Regions from separate parts of the Homo sapiens genome. Here region 2 is linked to region 1. The links are contacts of gene promoters, found by promoter capture Hi-C in blood cells and fetal thymus (Javierre and others, 2016). All regions are on one chromosome and are shown on one strand. The core of a region is centred on a gene start or on the middle of the fragment in contact, and the rest is flanking DNA. Distances in the headings are between cores, read along the strand shown.

The links. The method cuts DNA at HindIII sites, captures the fragments that hold promoters and counts their contacts. A CHiCAGO score of 5 or more calls a contact.
Region 2: a fragment that was not itself captured here is called in contact with the fragment with the promoter of MED23 in region 1 in 1 of 17 cell types (total CD8 T cells); the score reaches 7.4 in total CD8 T cells.

Annotation. Positions count from the first base shown.
Region 1 is chr6:131,626,900-131,629,705 of GRCh38, reverse strand. It overlaps MED23 (mediator complex subunit 23), which reads left to right and starts at 1,464. Exons shown (of 29, transcript NM_004830.4): 1 at 1,464-1,695; 2 at 2,034-2,065; 3 at 2,223-2,310. The coding sequence starts at 1,657. RefSeq lists enhancers at 1,475-1,644, 1,775-1,824. The HindIII fragment of the contact is 7,493 bases long and covers 1-2,631 here.
Region 2 is chr6:131,129,073-131,131,831 of GRCh38, reverse strand. LOC102723445 (a long non-coding RNA gene) reads left to right here and starts at 1,471. Exons shown (of 4, transcript XR_428022.3): 1 at 1,471-1,817; 2 at 1,919-2,095. It also overlaps a transcript of AKAP7 not described here. The HindIII fragment of the contact is 1,293 bases long and covers 810-2,102 here.

The sequences.
Region 1 (2,806 bases), core at 215-2,714:
GCTCAGAGTTTCCAGTTGGCTCTTTAGTCCCCCACTCTAAATCCTGATAGGACAAGGATGGAACAAGAAGCCTGAATTCTCAGCTTTCAGTTTGCTCAGACTCAAATTACCCCCCAGTTTATAGTATGCTGTTCACAGCAATCTAAGCAAACTCCCCTAGGTATCTTTCTAAATTCCTTTCTGTAGAAAAATTTGTATTTCCTCCTTTTCTCCCTGGCACTTTATTAGCATCACTAGTATTGCACATATCACACTCTATTATGGTTTAAAATGTCTATGTCTTCAACTAAGCTAAAGCTCTTTAGAGTAGATACATGGGCCCTAACCTGACTGATGTCCTTCTAGGAAGAGAAAATTACGACACAGACATGTACAAAGGGAAGACCATGTGAAGACACAAGGAGAAGAAGGTCATCTACAAGCCAAGGACAGAGGCCTCTATAGAAACTAACCCTATCAACCTCAACCTCAGACTTCCAGCCTCCAGAATTACAAGAAAAGAAATTTCTGTTGTTTAAGCCACCCAGTCTGTGGTATTTTGTTATGGCAACCCTAGCAAACAATACCCTAAGCCTAACTTTTCAAGTTTTTCTCCAGCAGGAAATCTGAATTATTTCTTTTCAGCTTTTAGTAGCTATTGTGTGGACAACATGGTTGCATGTGCATATTAAAGTTGTTAGAAAACTAAATTTATGCCAGGTCAGACACTTGTATAACAAAACCATGAATGGGGAGTCATCAGCTCATCACTTAGCAGCTACAAAGGAGTAGTTCATGCTTAGCAGTTTGTGGCATTTCACAACCGTCAAAGAAGTGAAAGGCCTTTGGATGTCTATGACTCTCATCAACAATTTTCTTTATGAGGCAAAGAAAGCTGATCATTCAAGACATAACAGATGTTTTAGGGGTTGGTGATGATGGTGGCATATGAAGAAAAACACATACTCTCAACAATATAATAGCAAATAGAATCTAGCAATATATTAAAAAGGATAATATATTATGACCAAGTAGCATTTATACCATAGAAGCAAAATTGGTTTGGCATTCAAAAGTCAATCAATTACATTTGCACTGAGGTTATCATAGCTGAGAAGACACCGTCTCTGTGGCTTCAGCTCCTGGCTGCAGGCCGCTGATGGAGGTCCAGAAGGTCAGCTGCTCACAGACATCAACTTGGTGTCGGCTGCGGCTCCAGCATTTTCCGCAGGCTGCAGCTTCTGGGTTCCAAACTTTTCATTTCTCAGTCTGCAAGCGGGTTAGCCCCGAACAGGAAGCAACTCCTTCTCCAGCCGGGAGGTGGCGGCCTGCGGTCGACGATGCCTCCGGGGTCCTTGGGCTCAAGGTTCCGTTTGGGGGCGCTCTCGTCCGGCTTGCGGGCCGCCCTTCTCCACAGACGGAACCTTCTGGTGGCGCCGCTGGTTTCTGCGGGGTTTGCAAACGGCGCGTACCGGGCCCTTCCCGTCTTCCGTACAGGTTCCTGCTGTTGGCTGGGCTCGGGAGGGAACGCTCCAGGTAAAGCGCTGGGGGAGGAAGCGACGCCGAGGAGCTACGGTTTCCTCCAGAGGTCTCCGCCCCTCTGCCCCTATATTCCCAGAGCTCGAGTCTGATCCGGGCCTTGCCGGGCACCCTGGAAAGGCGGGGGTGATAGTACAGATGGAGACGCAACTGCAGAGCATTTTCGAAGAGGTGGTGGTGAGTGCAGCTGCCGGCCATCCAGGACTACGGCTTGGGGACGGGGAGACGCGGGGGCAGCCGACCAAGGAAACTGGCCTGGGCAACCTCCTCTCACGCCTCCCTTTTTATTCCCTTGTTTTGACACCGAGGTTGTATGCGGGGAAGTTTAGTGATTCTCAAACTGCTGTCAAGTTCATTGTATCCTTTGAAATCGATACAGTGACAGGCCAGACAGGTATTGATAGTTTCAGAGCTGATTAAGGTGACTTGCCCTGTGTTACATTGTAATACTTGGCTAAGGGAGGCGCCTTTTTAAAATTAACATTGTTTACATTTTGTTTTTTTTTTTTTTACAGAAAACGGAAGTTATAGAAGAGGCTTTTCCTGGGTGAGTGTATGCGTGGCAGAGTTTTGTGTTTTTATGTGATTGTGTCTGTCAGATTTTACTTAGTTTCGTGTTGGAAGGTTATAAGATCCACTATTCTGATTGTGTGTAATTACCTTTTTAAAACGAATGACAAATAATGTAATTTTTATTTTTTTAGCATGTTTATGGATACTCCTGAAGATGAGAAAACAAAACTAATTAGCTGTTTGGGGGCCTTCAGACAGTTTTGGGGTGGTCTTTCTCAGGTGAGCGCTTCATTTTTAATACATTCAGCTGATGATTTTTGGCCTCTTCTTTTTTTTTTTTTTTTTCTTTTAACATTTACTTTCATGCTGCTCTTAAGATCTTCCTGAGAAGGGAGAAATAAAATTGTTATCATTTTTTATTCTGGCTTCCATTTGTTTTAATTTGTATATTTCAGTGGAAAACCTGTGTTGAGAAGTCAAGTTGATACTGCACAGTGTGAGATGTTTAAAAAAAAAAACCTCCCCTATGTTAGATTAATTGAGATCATTTTCATCCTATTCGGATTTATTTGGTACACTTGAAAACAGATATGTTAAGCTTTACTTGTCAAGGATACAAATTCCATTTTTCTGCTAAATAAAGGAATTGGCACAGCATTGATACAAAGATGCTACAATAGGAATACCAAGATTCTATAATAAGGATAGGAAAATATTATAGTAAAAATGAGGAGACAAACTGTAAAAGTAACAAAGAACAGCTACCAGAAAATGT
Region 2 (2,759 bases), core at 207-2,706, 500 kb after region 1:
ACAGGGGACCGCAGCTATGGTCAAGATCAGTAGGAACTGTCAGTGACCTCCTTTGGGGAACAGTCCCTGACCCCACCCTTCTACTTGGGTTAGGTACTCCACCTGAGGGCTTTAATACTCCTTGTGCCCGCTCTGACCATCCCTTTTGCCACATTTTTCTGTTTCATACATTAGACTTTACGCCACTAGAAGGCAAAGACTATGTTTTAAAGTCTTCGTATTCCCAAATGCATAGAGATTTCTCAATGAATAGACATTCAATGAATGAATAAAACTTTTATAAGCATCCAGATCCATTAAGTACTCAGATTTGTCAAAAAATAAAGCAGCACTCCCAGATAAATTTCAAAAAAAAAAAAAAAAAGAAAGAAAGAGAAACAATATCACGGGTAATCTTAATGTCCTACAGTTTTGTTGGCAAACAGCCTGTTGCGTGGCAAGAGTGGCGCCATCTTGAAGCAAAACCTCCATGAAGAGCAATGTCTGGCTCCTGCATGCAAAGGTGTTCTGCAGCAAGGTTTTTAAACCAAGCATCTAGCATAGACAACCCCTCATAAAGATGCTTATCTGACCTCCCCAGTGGTCATAAGTTTGAGATGGGACCAACTGCCCAAGTCTTAGAATACTTTCTGGAGGGTGGATGCGAGGATGTGTAATCTCATGGCCTCTGGAGAGTCACTTTGGTTCATAAGACCCTGTTAAATATTTCTTTCTGAAAAACTGGATTTGTCAGTCACTTTCTTCAGCCTCTCAGCTCCCACAACCCTTCAGGATAGGTTTGCATATACCTGCTCACGCCTGAACAAGCTTCTCCAGCTTAAGGCTAAAAATTAGCCAACATTAACTTTAACATCTAAATGTTTTTTCTTTTTTAAAAATTTTTTAATTTCTATTTTTTTCTTTTTTTCCCTGCAAAGCCAACTGCAAGTATAACATTAACATCTAAATCTTAATAGCTAAATGAACCTACCAACTCATGCCAAGACGCCAGTCCTTTGTGAAATTCCTCCAAAATACTTTTGGGTTTCCAAGTGGTGTCTGGCAAAACTAATCTAATGAATCATTCTAAGCTACCACCTGTTCCCAGCCCTTGCTTCACTGAGTTCCATTTGTCCAATCTTGACTCCGGAAAGTCCTCTGCCCTCGCGCACATCAGCTGCCTGCTAATTCACCTGGCCACAGTGGATTCTCCCAGTCTTCATGGTGACATCTCTTGCAAATGAAAAGAACAAGGTCAGCTGGGCACAGTGGCTCACGCTTGTAATCCCAGCACTTTGGAAGGCCGAAGCGGGTGGACAACCTGAGGTCAGGAGTTTGATACCAGCCTGACCAACATGGCAAAACCCTGTCTCTACTAACAATACAAAATTAGCCAGGCGTGGCGGCACATGCCTGTAATTCCAGCTACTCAGGAGGCTGGAGCAGAGAATCGCTCGAACTCAGGAGGCAGAGGTTGCAGAGGTGCAGTGAGCCAAGATTGTGCCTGGGCAACAAGAGTGAAACTCCATCTCAAAAAAAGAGAAAAGAACAACTTCTCCCTACACATTACACTCTGCTAAGAGTAGAGCAGGTTGAGCTGCATCACAGAAGATTTTTGGGACCTATAAGAATTACAGAATTCCTTGAGATACAGCAAGTTTCTTTACAGACACTGCCCCATTTCCCCCAGAGGGCAAGGTACAATGATTGCTGAAATAATTGGATGGGAAGTGTTCAGGTTCAGATTGCCACACTGTTCCTGAAACATGACCCATTTCTGACTTTCAGGAACTACTACTAAATTGACTCATTCACCCTGCCCGACTCCTTTCTTTATGGTGAGTTCTCTCTTCAGGTCCCTCATTTCTCTTCTGTGATACGGTCCTGACCTAGTGAATTTCTACCAAAACAATTGACTCTGTTTTAATTCTTGCCCTAGGATGTTCCTTGGTCCCCATAGAAACTAAAGTTGCAAATGGTTACAAAAAAGGATGACATCATGCAGTTCTACAAGACACGGCCAAATATCAGTACAAAGCTAACTGGGACCCTTGGTGACCCAAGGTAACTCGGGGTGACATTTCATTTTGCTGGAAGAAGAATATGTGTTTAACATGTAAGCTTTTCAATTAATGTTTGAGTATAATATTTTTAAGAAAGCACTACACCTATTTAATAATAGACTTATTTCAGTAGTCAGACACAGTTGAAGGGCCTGATAATATTTAATAACAGAATGCAACATTTTAAATTATTTTAAATATTTCTAACTACAAATCTAAAATTTTATGTAAGTAACATGTTGTTTTATGATATTTTTAAATTCAGAAAAACTTATGGAATAAAATGTAAAATTATCTATAATTGTATCTTTTTAGACATAGATATACATACACATATAAACACATACTCCTGCAGCATATATTTTATAAAAATGAAATCATGTCACATTATGGCATCATAAGCTACTTTTGTCTTTTACAAGATATTGTGACTAATTTCTCATGTCATTAAGCATTCTTCTATATTTTATATTATTCTTTCAATCATGCATTTTTTTTTTTTTTTGACAGAGTCTTGCTCTGTCACCCAGGCTAGAGTGCAGTGGCATGATCTTGGCTCACTGCAACTTCCGCCTCTCGGGTTCAAGCAATTCTCCTGCCTCAGCCTCCCTGGTAGCTGGGACTACAGTCACCTGACACCACACCTGGCTAATTTTTGTATTTTTAGTAGAGACCAAATTTCACCATGTTGGCTAGGCTGGTCCCGAACTCCTGACC